Regions from separate parts of the Homo sapiens genome. Here region 1 is linked to region 2. The links are contacts of gene promoters, found by promoter capture Hi-C in blood cells and fetal thymus (Javierre and others, 2016). All regions are on one chromosome and are shown on one strand. Each heading gives the region's core, a stretch centred on a gene start or on the middle of the fragment in contact. The rest is flanking DNA. Distances are from core to core; before and after follow the strand shown. Region 1 holds the start of LOC124903851 (a long non-coding RNA gene). Region 2 holds the start of CTRC (chymotrypsin C).

The links. Contacts are between HindIII fragments. The CHiCAGO score rates a contact against its expected background, and 5 or more counts as called.
Region 1: a contact is called between a fragment that was not itself captured here and the fragment with the promoter of CTRC in region 2, in 3 of 17 cell types (neutrophils, monocytes and total B cells). The highest score is 6.0, in neutrophils.

What each region holds. Positions count from the first base shown.
Region 1 is chr1:15,334,688-15,341,687 of GRCh38, reverse strand. FHAD1 (forkhead associated phosphopeptide binding domain 1) reads right to left here. Exons shown (of 34, transcript NM_001391957.1): 15 at 2,137-2,207. The region is part of intron 1 of FHAD1-AS1 (FHAD1 antisense RNA 1); the gene reads left to right. LOC124903851 (a long non-coding RNA gene) reads left to right here and starts at 762. Exons shown (of 3, transcript XR_007065480.1): 1 at 762-1,308; 2 at 2,725-2,892; 3 at 3,235-7,000. The HindIII fragment of the contact is 2,019 bases long and covers 241-2,259 here.
Region 2 is chr1:15,436,597-15,442,950 of GRCh38, reverse strand. CTRC (chymotrypsin C) reads right to left here and starts at 4,508. Exons shown (of 8, transcript NM_007272.3): 1 at 4,447-4,508; 2 at 2,560-2,651; 3 at 2,361-2,458; 4 at 379-504. The coding sequence starts at 4,486. The HindIII fragment of the contact is 3,491 bases long and covers 2,146-5,636 here.

The DNA.
Region 1 (7,000 bases), core at 1-2,500, 98 kb after region 2:
TAAAGAGTCTTTCCCCATTTGTTTACCAATTGTTTACCTTTCTGGGTACAAAGGTTTACCCAAAAGTTTCTTAAAATCACAGAACACTACAGCATGCTGTGGTTAAGAATTCAGACTCTGGATCTAGAAAGAATCCCAGCTCTAGTTGTTTCTAGATGCTTCCTCATTTAGAAAATGAAGTTAATAACAGTATTGATCTTTTAGAGTTGTGAGGATTAAGTGAGATAATGATGGAAAGCTTTTAGCACAGTGCTGAGCACATAGTAGGTGTTCAGTAAGTGGTAGGTGGGTGTGAGGAAAAAAAGCAGTCATGTAGGAGCCAGGACGCTTGAACATTTGTCTTGATTCTTCACCCATTAGCTGTGTGACACTGAAATTGTCCTTATCTGAAAAATAAGGAGAAGGGACTAGACCAGGGGTTGACAAACTACAGCCCACAGGCCAAATCGGGCCCACTGCATACTTTTGTAAATAAGGTGGTGTTTTTGTTTTGTTTTGTTTTTTTTGAGATGGTGTCTTGCTCTGTCGCCCAGGCTGCAGTGCAGGGGCACAATCTTGGTTCCCCGCAACCTCTGCCTCCCGGGTTCAAGTGATTCTCCTGCCTCAGCCTCCTGAGTGGCTGAGATTACAGGTGCCCACCACCACACCTGGCTAATTTTGGTATTTTTAGTAGAGATGGGGTTTTACCATGTTGGCCAGGCTGGTCTCGAACTCCTGACCTCAGGTGATCCACCCGCCTCAGCCTCCCAAAGCGCTGGGATTACAGGCATGAGCCACCGTGCCCGCCGTAAATAAAGTTTTATTGGAACAGTGCCATGCTTATCATGTCCATTGCTTACATATTGTCTATGGCTACTTTCATTTTACCATAGCAGAGTGGAAGAGGTATGAATATGGTCTGCAAAGCATAAAATATTTACCATCTGGCCCTTTACAGAGAAAGTTGCCAATCCCTGGACTCAAGCCTCTGTGGCTGATTGGCATGGTGGTCCCTTCTTTACCCCACTCTATCCATGTCTAGGGCTATGTAACTTGCAGTGCCCGCCCATATTTTGCCTCCAGACACTGAACTCAGCCATGTGACTTGTTCTGGCCAATGGGATCTTAGCAGACATAACACAAGCAGAAGGTTGAAAAACACTATGTGATTGGGCCACTTTCTTTTATACCTCGTAGTCTCCATGAGAACAGCCTAGGCTTGCTTGCTGGGGGATGAGAGACACAGGGAGCTGAGTCACTCCAGCTGAGGCCAGTCTAGATCAACCAAAGGCCAGCTAACACCCAGACAAGTGGGTGGGCCCATCCAAGGTCAGCAGAGCCGCCTTGCCACTGACCCCAGACACGTGAGGAGTAAATAGCAATTGCTGAATGCCGCTGAAGTTTTGTGGTTGTTTATTATATAATACTATTATGGCAATAGCTATCAGAATGATATAACCCGTAAAGCTCATTTGCCTCTAGAATATTTCTTTTCTTTTAGTAATTCTGCTGCCTGTGCTATAGATAGCTGTACTTTGTCCACTGGATTTAGTAAACACAGTTTTCAAAATCTGATGGCATTAAGGCTGGTGCAGTGGCTCACGCCTGTAATCCCAGCACTTTGGGAAGCTGAGGTGGGTGGATCACTTGAGGTCAGGAGTTCAAGACCAGCCTGGCCAACATAATGAAACCCTGTCTCTACTAAAAATACAAAAATTAGCAACACATGGTGGCAGGCGCCTGTAATCCCAGCTACTCAGAAAGCTGAAGCAGGAGAATCACTTGAACCCGGGAGGCAGAGGTTGCAATGAGCCGAGATTGCACCACTGTACTCCAGTCTGGGCAACAGAGCGAGACTCAAAAAAAAAAAATCTGATGGCATTAAGTCTTCTGGGCCTTTGACAGAGGAAAACAAACAGTGTGGTTGGCCCAGGAGGCCAGAGGGCAGCACCCTGTCATTGTCCTTACCCTCCTGGGAGATCTTAGCCAACCTTTTCTGTACCTCTTTGTGTGCAAATGAAGAAATCATTTCACCTATTGGAGGGTGTGGACTGGACTAGCTGATAAAGAAAAAACAGGTTTCAAATGCACAGTGCTATATAAATGCCAACCAGGGGCCGAAATGAACTTTGGAAAAAAAGAAATTAAAAGAATTACCTGAAGTTCCTGGGCCTGGCTCATAAGTTTTTTATAATGTTCCAGAAGATATATCAGATACAAAGAGAACCCTTAAAAAAAGAGAAGCAGGAAGAATGTAAGTATCAATTCAACTCCAAAGCTTGCAGACAGGTGGATGAAAGCAACGTTGCCATCCCATCAAAACAACGTGAGCTGCCATCCAACCTGTGGTTTTAAAGTAGTTGATAAGCAGCCGGGCACGGTGGCTTAGGCTGGGCATGGAGGTTCACACCTGTAACCCCAGCACTTTGGGAGGCTGAGATGGGCAGATCACCTGAGGTCAGGAGCTCGAGACTAGCCTGGCTGGCCAGCGTGATAAAACCCCATCTCCACTAAAAATACAAAAACTAGCTGGGTGTGGTGGCGCATGTTTGTAATTCCAGCTACTTGGGAGGCTGAGGCATGAGAATCGCTTGAAACTGGAAGGCAGAGGTTGCAGTGAGCCCAGATTGTGCCACTGCATTCCCGCTCAGGTGACAGAGCGAGACTCAGTCTCAAAAAAATAAAAATAAAAATAAAGTAGTTGATAAGCCTTGGTTGAGCTCACATCCAACTTTCTTTTTGGAGGTGGAAAACAACCCATCAACAGAACACCTATTTACTGTCTACTGTGTGTGAAGCATGGTGCTGAGTGTGGGGGATGGTCTAAAGCCAAGACCTCCAGGGGCTTACAGTTCAGTCCGAAAGACAAGGTGTAAATGCCTGCTGGAAACATGCAGTGACCCCAGGTGGCATGTGAGTGACTGCTGAAGGAGAGGGGAGGGTGAGGGTGTCAGAGGAGGGGGAGATCATTCACCTGGAGTGAGCGAGTAAGACCACTTGGTTGAAGAACTACTGGGTGTGGATGCTGTTGGGTGGGCAGAATTCAGAGAGCCGGGGGAGGGCGCTTCAGAACAGGGGTGCGCGGGGCTGAATGATGACCCCCTACGATTCCAGGTCCGAATCCCTGGAACCTGTGGGTGTGACCGTACAGGGCAAAAAGAGCTTGGCAAATACGATTAAGTTAAGGATTTCGAGATGGGGTGTTATCCTGGATTATCTGGGTGGACCCAATGTCATCACATGGCTTCTTATAAGGAGACAGACGGAGGCTTGACCACAGACAGAGGGGAAGGTGATGTGATGGAAGCAGAGACTGGAAGATGCCACATCGCTGGCTTTGAAGATGGAGGAAGGGGCCATGAGCCAAGGAATGCAAGGAATGAAGCTCTAGAGGCTGAAGAAGGCCAGGAAACGGATACTGCTCTAGAGCCTCCGGAAGGAACTTTAGCCCAGTGAAACTGAATTAATCCTGAATGCTAAGAGAATAATGTGTTGTTTTAAGCCAGTCTCTTGTGGTCATTTGTTACAATAGTCACAGGAAGCCACAGTTTCACACCGGGATGTGGGGGTGGTGGGGGTGGGATTTGGAAAAGGCAGTGCTCCTCCCGGGAAGTGCTGAGCTTACTTGGGCTGGAGTAGATGATGGGAGAGGGAGGAGCAGACAGTGGAGGAGGCATGGAAGGGTGAGGTCAAGCCGTGACACTCCTGAAACCGTCGGCTTGAGAGAGGAAACTTGATTTAAACATGACTGAAATGTGCCCAGTGGGTCCCCAATTTATAGATGAGGCAGTGGCGTTCTGAGACGCAGGCCTGCCCAACGCCACACAGCAGGCCAGTGGTTGAGCCAAGACTAATTGGTGTGACTCGAGGTCTGAGTCACTCCTATTCCAGCGGCTGACAGAACAGTGAAGTGGCCTGATGAAGAGCGTTGTTTTTTTTTTTAAAGAAAAATAGCTGGGCTGCATTCGAGAGGCTGGAGCTGGCAGGGTTTCTTTGCTGGAGCACTGCTGCTATGTCGGGCCGTATTGCTGGTATTGCACTGCTGATATTGTCAAGTCTTTGCTGTTGGGGCTGTCTTAGGCATTGTGGGATGGTTAGTAGCATTCCTGGTCTCTACCCACTGGATGCCAGGGGCACCCCTACTCACCCCACCCCAGTTTTGACAACCAAAAATGTCGCCAGACGATCCTGGATGTTGCCTGTGATAAGCTCCCCTCCTCTGAGTGAGAGGCAGGGAGCTCCGCTAAGGGCCCGAGAGACGCCCAGGTATTCAGTGCTGATCCTCTAACTGAGGGTGGGAGAAGTGAGGATGAGAGGGAAGAAAGGGAAAGCCTTTTAAAGGGGTAGAATGGTGGCCTCGTCATCAGACGGGAGAGAGACAGGTTGGGGTTGCGGTGGGGTGTGGCAGGGAGAGAGAAGGAGCCCCCAGGCTGTTTCAGACATGCTGAATTTGAGGCACTGGCAGGACTCTGGGGAGGGAGGGTCAGCAGAGAGCCGGACATGCCAATCGGTAATGCCGGCCCAGCCCAGCCCATCCAGGGTCCTTGTGTGAATGAAGAAAGAGGCCCCCTTCCTCCTGGTGGCCATGGCCCCTGGCCAGGGACCCCACCTACTGCCTTGGCTGGACTCCCTGCACCACTTTCCTGGCAGCCCCTCCTGCAGAGGCGTCCGTGTGGAAAACACATAGGAGTGGCTGGGGAAGCCCGGAAGTGCAGAGTTTCTTCATGAGAAAGGAGATGGGGTGGACCAAGGGCTGACTGCACAGGAGAAAACACCCTCGTTAGGGATAGGAGTTGGTGAAGGGGGCTGCTGGGAATGAATGGAAAAGATCAGGAGGGAAGCAGAGCGCCTAAAGGGTTTCAAAAAAGAGAATGAAGAGCGTTGGGCAGGTCAGAGACACAGTCCCCGAGAGGGTGGTGGCCTAGTCAGTGCTGCAGGGGGCCCGTGTCAGTTACTTGGCAGAAAGGCCAAGAAGCTGGCAATGAAGACCGAGGGTGCAACACGCTTCTTAAAGATCACAGGTGAAGACAGGAGTAAGAGCAATTGAAAAGGAGCGAAAGAAGCGATGGATTCCAGAGAAGAATGATTTTTTTCAGGATGGTACAGCCATCTTGAAGTGCCCCTTTGATGGCAAAGGGAAGGAACTAAGAGGAAAAGAAAGGCCGCTGACGCCAAAGAAAGAAGAATTTGTGCACAAGGTCCCTGGGAAGGAGAGGAAAGGGGAGACAGGGCAGGGTACGTGCTGCATGTAGGAGGAAGACCTAGTGGGGATAATGGAGGGAAGGAATAAAAGGTGGGCCAAGAGAGAAAAAGGAAGTGAGGAGAACATGTTCTTGTGTGGGGCAATGCACCATTCGGAGGATTTCCAGCACAGAAGCGTGAGAACAGCAATATTATAATAATAGCAGACCTGGTGCGTGCCAGTGCTATGCCAAGAGTTTGATACGTTTTTCTAATCATTATAAACAACCTGGTAAGGAAGTATGTTCATATTTATAGGTGAAACGACAGAAGCTCCCCAAGGTTAAGCTACAGAGCTGGTAAGTGTTAGAATCAGAATTCAGACCTAGATCTGTCAATCTCTTTTCAAAGGGTTTGGAGGCTTGAGAGTACAGGGTTGGGTTGGTGCGTTGGAGAGGTGCATTGCAAGGATACCAAGATGGCGGAGGAGGTGAGATGGCCGGGCTGACATTGGCTTGGCCCACTGGACCTGGTGAATACAGGGATTTGTGGAGGCTCTGTTGGGATGAGTCTGGGATTTTGCTCGGCTGCAACGTGTGACCCAGGAATCAAAGGGGAAGGATGAAATCATGGTTGGGATCTGAGGAGGACTAAGGGGAGAGGTAGCTGAGGATGCTGAAGGGGAGGCCAGTATTTGATCACATTTCTATTTCTAGATTAGATGACTAACTGTAATCATAATGGGGATTTTGCTCTTTGGGGGAAGGAACAAGTCTTTCTTATACTTCTGTTTACAAAAGTTATAAATGTTGGTTATAAAAACCCAAATGTTACAGAAATTCATAATGTGGGAAGTGTTTGCCACTGCGTCTTCATGTTCTGCACAGTGGCTGGCACACAGGGGCCCTCAATGAACAGTTGTTGAACAACTGAATGGAAGTCAAGGTCCAGTGCAATCCCACCCTGCTGGGATAATACTCCTAACAGTTTGATGTCTTTTTCTCAAGGTTGTTCTTTTGCTCAGATACTGACATTTAAAAAAAAAAAAAGCACACCAAGCATATTGTATTGCAACTTGCTTTCTTTTCAGTTAAAGACACAGTGTATCTTGGATAGTTGAGTGATTTGCCATGCATGCAAGAAGAGTCTTTTATTTGTAACAAAGTCTTGCAGAAATAGACACAAACGACGGAGCTTGCAGAGAAAAATGTAAAAAATCCTTTCCTTCCCTTATCAGAGGAACCCTGAGAAACCAGGCAGGAGGAGTATTCAGCTGACTTTCAAGGTGCCGCCTAAACATTCTTATCCTCCCAGCTGAACCACACAGCAAATCCTCCACCCTTCCGAACACACTGGACCCCAGCAGGCCTCACCTTGTGGGCTGCACGTGACATCTCCCAACAACACCACAAGTCATTTCCCTGACGTTTACCCCGCCTGGATTCCCCTGGGGGATTCGTTTCAGGATTTCCATCCTAGTTTGTGACGCGTGTTTTATCTCTTAGGAGGATGTTCTAAAAGGCAGGTAGCCTGGTGGTCAAGAGCAGGGAGTTTGAGGTTGGAGGGGCGTGGACTGAGTTGCAGCTTGGCCACTTGGCAGCCGGGACCCGAGGCCCACTGTCAGATTCTAAGGAGGAGGCCTCTAGAAAGGGCTCTTGGCTTCAACCCAACTGAGGGCTTAGGGCTAAAGAAACCCCATTTGCTGCTAAATGGAGACAGGGCAGAGGCTCCAGAGGATGTTACCTGGGTGCAAGTAAACCAGGCTATGCGGTCCACATGCCTACCTGCCTGGTGGCTACCCATGTTTAGGTCAGATGAAGTCAACCAGTATTTGAGGCTG
Region 2 (6,354 bases), core at 3,259-5,758:
TTAACCTCTCTGAGCCTTGGTTCTTTGTCCAGGGCTGTTGTGAGGATTACATAACAGATGGCATATAAAGTGTCTATTGCAATGTGGGCATACAGTAGGAACTCAATAAAGGTGAGCGCTGGCCCAGCCTCTGGAGAGACACTGTGGGGGGCCTTCCTTGTGGACTTTCCTGGGAGTCTTGGCCAATGAGGGGGATATGAGGGGGTATTTGTCTCCACTTAGCATTTTGCCATTTTGTGTAAGACAGTCATTTGCTGGCTTTCCAGGGTGAGGATGGGGTGTCAGGTATGGGGTGCGACAGGCTCTGCGGCTCCGTCTTGGGGACCCCTCCTTCCACACTGCCCCCAGTGGCTGTGGGATGGGCAGTCTGTCACTCACCGCAACAGGAGGGCATTCCATCTCTTGTGGACGTGGATGGTGTCCACACCCACAAACAGGGATCCTTCTTCGTCTTCCACCTCCAGGTTGTTCTTTCCCACGGCCACACGGTAGGTCCGGGTGTTGCTGGGCAGAGGAAGGGGTCCAGGTCAGGGTGGCCCCCTGGTCCTGCCAGCCAGTGGGATAGAGAGGGAGCTCGGGGCTTTAGTGGGACTCATTTTGGGGGAAGAGAGTGTTCCCATTGTCCTTTCCCAGGGTGAGGGGAAGGGCCTGGGACTTGGGGTCAAGGGACTTGGGTTCATGTTGTGACTTTGCTGCTCCTGGCTGTGTAGCCTTGTGCCTCAGTTCCCTCATCTGTAAGGGGGAGGCAATGCTGGAACTTACTCCCAGGGCGGCTGTGAGAATAAACTCATCCAAGCTTCCACCGCCCTTGCCTGCACAGTTGCGGCATCCATCTAACTATCTCTCACTTGTACGCTGGCCTACTCCTGTCTATTCTGAACCCAGCAGTGTGGGTTTAAAAATATCTCCGGCCAGGTGCGTTGGCTCATGCCTGTAATCCCAGCACGTTGGGAAGCCGAGACGGGGGGATTGCTTGAGGCCAGGAGTTTGAGACCAGCCTGAGCCACATGGCAAATCCCCATCTCTACAAAAAATAGAAAACTTATGGTGAGGTTTGGGCTTCTAAGTTAAAAAACAAACAAACAAACAAAAAACAAGAAGAAAAATTAGCTGGGAATGCGTGGTGGCGTGTGCTTATAGACCCAGCTACTCGGGAGGCTAAGGTGGGAGGATTGCTTGAGCTCAGGAGGTCAAGGCTACAGTGAACCATGATGGTACCACTAAATGAGACTCTGTCTCTACCAAAAAAAAAAAAAGTGTATATGAAATATATAAAATGAAATATGTTGCAATATATATTTTTTATAAAATATATTAAAAATATTTTATGGAATATATAAAAATATGTCAGCCCACAACTCTCCTTTGCTCAGAAACCCTTCCAATAGCTCCATCTTACTCAGGGTCAAAGCCAAGGTCCTGATACTGACCTGCACTTATTTCCTCTCTAGCTCACCTCCCACTCTCCTCTAGCACACGCTGCCCCTGCCACACCGGCTTCCGCGTTATTTCTCAACCATACTGACAGGTCTCTCCTCCAAGGCTTTGCATGGCTGTTCCCTCCGCCTGGAACACCCTTCTCCTAGATCCATGATTTCCTCCCTCACTTCCTTCAGGCCTTTGCCCAAATAACCCCCTTTTAGCTCTCCGAAATGTCCCAAATATTTGCCAAATATCCCCCTTTCAGCTCTTCCCCTGGCCATCCCTTTTAAAACTGAACCCCTCATTCTGTTTGTCCTCTTCTGACCTTATTTTTATTTTTTATTTTTTTGAGACAGAGTCTCACTCTGTTGCCCAGGCTAGAGTGCAGTGGCGCCATCTCGGCTCATTGCAACCTCTGCCTCCCGTGTTCAAGTGATTCTCCTACCTCAGCCTCCCGAGTAGCTGGGATTACAGGTGCCCGCCACCACGCCTGGCTAATTTTTGTATTTTCGGTAGAGACGGGGTTTCACTATGTTGACCAGGCTGGTCTCGAACTCCTGACCTCAGGTGATCCGCCTGCGTCGGCCTCCCAGAGTGCTATGATTACAGGCGTGAGCCACTGCTCCTGGCCAATACCTTATTATTAGTATTATTTTAAATCACCTGAGATGCTATATATTTGTTTAATTGTCTGCCGCTCTGTCTTCCACAAAAATATAAGCTTCCCGAGAGCACAGACTTTGTCTTCACTGCTGGTTCCTGGCACATAATAGATGCACAATGAATACTTGACTGACTAAATGCACAACTGAGTTACTGGGTGTGAGTAGATTATGTAGCCCAGTGCCTGGAGTGCGGAGAAGCTGCTCAGAAAAAGCAGAGTATCAGGCTTCCGCCCCCGGACGATGGCCAGGTCTCAGGGTATCATCCCCGCACACCTGATGCAGTGGGCGGCAGTGAGGACGAAGTTGCTAGCAATCAAAGTCCCGCCACACGTATGCCTCCACGTGTCGTTCTTGAGGTACTGGAGGGAGATCTGCAGGAGGGTGGGGAGGGCTGTGTGTCAGCCTGCAGGTCCCTGGGACCCTCACCCCGCCACCCTCTCTATCTGTACCTCCCAGCCCTACACAGGCTTACCTGCCAGGGCCAGCTGTGGGGCCGGGCATCCTCTCCTCCCACCACTCGGGCGGATAGGTTGGGCGGGAAGCTGGGCACCCCACAGCTGGAGGCTGGGGAGACAGGAGGCCAGAAGAACCAGTGAATAGGGCTGGTAGCCCACGGGGAAAGGGGTGGGAGGGTGGGCAGGTGGAAGAAGCACAGAGTTGGGGCTGGGCAGACACGGGGTTGATATTTTACTGTGTCACGGGGGTAAGCCACCCAGGTCTCTAGGCCTTGTTTTCCCTTTCTGTGAAATGTGAAGAATCACACTAATGCGGTGAGTTTGCCCTGAGAACTGAATTAGACAACACATAAAAAAGAAAGCGTTTGGCCGGGCACGGTGGCTCACACCTGTAATCCCAGCACTTTGGGTGGCCAAGGCGGGTGGATCGCTTGAGATCAGGGGTTTGACACCAGCCTGGCCAACATGGCGAAACCCTGTCTCTACTAAAAATACAGAAATTAGCCAGGCGTGGTGGTGCATGCCTGTAATCCCAGCCACTCAGGAGGCTGAGGCAGGAGAATCGCTTGAGCCTGGGAGATGGAGGTTGCAGTGAGCCGAGATCGTGCCATTGCACTCCATCCTGGGTGATAAGAGCAAAACTCCATCTCAAAAAACAAAACAAAACAAAACAAAACTGGCTGGCATGTGTGCGAGTGCCCGGTACACCTGTGTTCTTCTGTCTGTTTTTAGGCCCCTGCATCATGGTGTGTGTGTGAGAGAGCAGTAAATCCACTGTTATAGCTGGGAAGCTGTGTGGAGCGGTCAAGAACACGTGCTGTTCCGCGAGACAGACGTGGACTCAAATTCTGCCTCTTCCACTAACCTGCCATGTGATGTCAGGCAAGATACTAAGTCGCACGGAACCTCGATGTCCTCATCTGTAAAATGGGGCTATGAAAAGACCCTACCTCTTTTTCTTTCTTTTTCTTTTTTTTTTTTTTTTGAGACGGAGTTTCACTCTTGTTGCCCAGGCTGGAGTTTGATGGCGCGATCTCGGCTCACTGCAACCTCCTCCTGGGTTCAAGCAATTCTCCTGCCTCAGCCTTCTGAGTAGTTGGGATTACAGGTGCCCGCCACCACGCCTGGCTAATTTTTGTATTTTTAGTAGAAACGGGGTTTCATCTTGTTGGCCAGACTGGTCTCAAACTCCTGATCTCAAGTGATCCACCCACCTCGGCCTCCCAAAGTGCTGGGATTACAGGCGTGAGCCACCATGCCTGGCAATAGACCCTACCTCTTAAGGTTGTTTTGAGGATTAAATTGGCTCCTACATGTAAGGGGCCTAGCATAGCGTCTGGCACATAGTAAACACACAGGAAACAGGAGCTGCTATTATTACTGTTGTTGTTGTTAGCTGGAAGGACTCTTCATTAAGTGCTCTCCTTTGCCAAAAAAGTTAGTGAGATTTAGAGAGGTGAAATGACTTTTCCAGGTCCTGCAGAGAAGAAGTGGCATTTAAGCTAAGTCCCTGGGCTCCTAATCTGGGAAAACGCCACCAAAATGATGGAATGGAGAATCCTCAAGGGAGAGAGAATGCTGGGAAAGGCAGACCCCGATGGTCCCTGGGGTGAACCCAGGATGAGGCATCTCGTGTCCCTCCCCCTTGCGTGGTGCTTTCCACACCTCATTTCTAACTGGGGACACGTCAGATCATCTTCCCTGTTTTGCAGATGTGGAAACAGAGTTGGCAGGCAGGCTGTGGCTTGTCTGACACACAGCTGGTTGGTAGCATCTGAACCCACAGGGGACCCCAAAGTGTCTTACCTGGAGAGCAGAGGCCCCCCCACTCCCCATCCCGTCCTTGCCCTGGAGGCCAGCCCGAGCTCACAGCCTGCTAGCTGCAGCCCCACCCCACCGCTTACCACAGGCCAAGAGCGCAGCGAGGACAGTGATGCCCAACATGGTTAGGTGCTCAGGACTGGCTGACCATCGGGATGGGCTGGGGCACACTTATAGGCAGGAGCAGGTGAGTGCACCTGGTCAAGGCCAAACCGCCCCTTGGAGAGAAACCTGCTCTGATAAGGCCCTTTCCCTGACCTTGGGTGGTTACTGTTTAATTTGGGCAGGAGACAGGGCTTTCTTAGAAGTATGGATTTTCCAAATATCCTGAAACAGAAAATTCTGAGTTGCAGTGCTTTTTGGCATCCCCCACCCCACTCTGTTTGACGTGTGTGTTCATTCTCTCTCCCTACCTTATACTATTTATTTATTTATTTGGAGATGGAGTCTTGCTCTGTTGCCCAGGCTGAAATGCAGTGGCACAGTCTCAGCTCACTGCAACCTCCACCTCCCGGGCTCAAACGATTCTCGTGCCTTAGCCCCCTGTGTAGCTGGGACTACAGGCGCCTGCCACCACGCCAGGTTAATCTTTTGTATTTTATTTATTTTTTTGAGACAGGATCTTGCTCTGTCACCCAGGCTGGAGTCTCAGCTCACTACAACCTCCGCCTCCCGAGTTCAAGCGATTCTCCTGTCTCAGCCTCCCAAGTAGCTGGGACTACAGATGTGTGCCACCATTTTTTTTTTTTTTTTTTTTTTGTATTTTAGTAGAGACAGGGTTTCACCCTGTTGCCTAGGGTGGTCTTGAACTCCTGAGCTTAGGCAATCTGCCTACCTCAGCCTCCCAAAGTGCTAGGATTACAGGTGTGATTACAGGCCGTTACCTTATTCTTTTTAGTTATTTATTGGGCACCTACTGTGTGTCAGGCATTGCGCTCAATTCTTCTTGCATTATCTCACTTAATTCTTCCAACAACATGAAATAGACGCGGTTATCTGCTCTGAGGTGAGATGAGAAAGGACCAGGCGCAGTGGTGCATGCCTGTAGTCCCAGCTACTCCTGAGGCCAAGGTAGGAGGATCGCTTGAGCCCAGGAGTTCGAGGCTGCAGTGAGCCGTGATCGTGCCACACTGCATTCCAGCGCGGGTGACAGAACAAGACCTTGTCTCTAAAAAAATAAAATAAAAGTGAGGAAGCTGAGACTCAGCGGGTAAGTGACCATCTAGGGTCACACGGCTGGGCAGCAGCAGAGCCAGACTTTGAAGCCAAAGCTTCTAACACCAGCCTGGGGCTTCAAGCTGTGGAGACATGCTGCTCCTTCTCTGCCTTTCTAGTGCTATTGGATCGCTTCCTGGCTCTCTCTCTGTCTCATCTTTCTAATTGCCTGGGCTTGATGCACTCCTGCACCTGCCTCCAGGGCTGTGGTTGGAGGCAGGGATGCAGCAGGCTCTGGAAGGTGCTTAGTTGGCCAGATTCCTTCCTGGAGTCAGCTTAGTTGTAGGTCCTCAGTTTCCCCATCTCTAAAATGGGCAAAAGGACCAGATGGACTTTCAGGCTCCTTTCAGTTCTACAATTCTGTAACTTGAATGTCAAGGTCAGTGGCAGATCTGAGGGCCCAAAGCACTGAGTAGCAGAAATTCTACCAGAGCCTCCGGCATTCGGGGTTGGCCATCCCTTGGAACATGTGGTTTGATCCATTCGCCCCAAGGCCTGGCCTCAGCCTGGTTGGTTAGATTCTGTCTTTCGTTTCCCCTCTACTCATACTGAGCTCCCCTTGAAGGTCATTTTCTGAGCTGGGCCTACTGGCCACCTTAGGAATTCCTTCCTGATAGAAAAGTTCAGAGCACTACGCACCCCGCCATTCATAGCGGTGATCTGGGGGTGAAGGAGGATTCTAACTTACACTTTTTTTTTTTGAGAGTCTTGCTCTGTGGCCCAGGCTGGAGTGCAGTGGTGCGATCTCAGCTCACTGCAACCTCCACCCCTGGGTT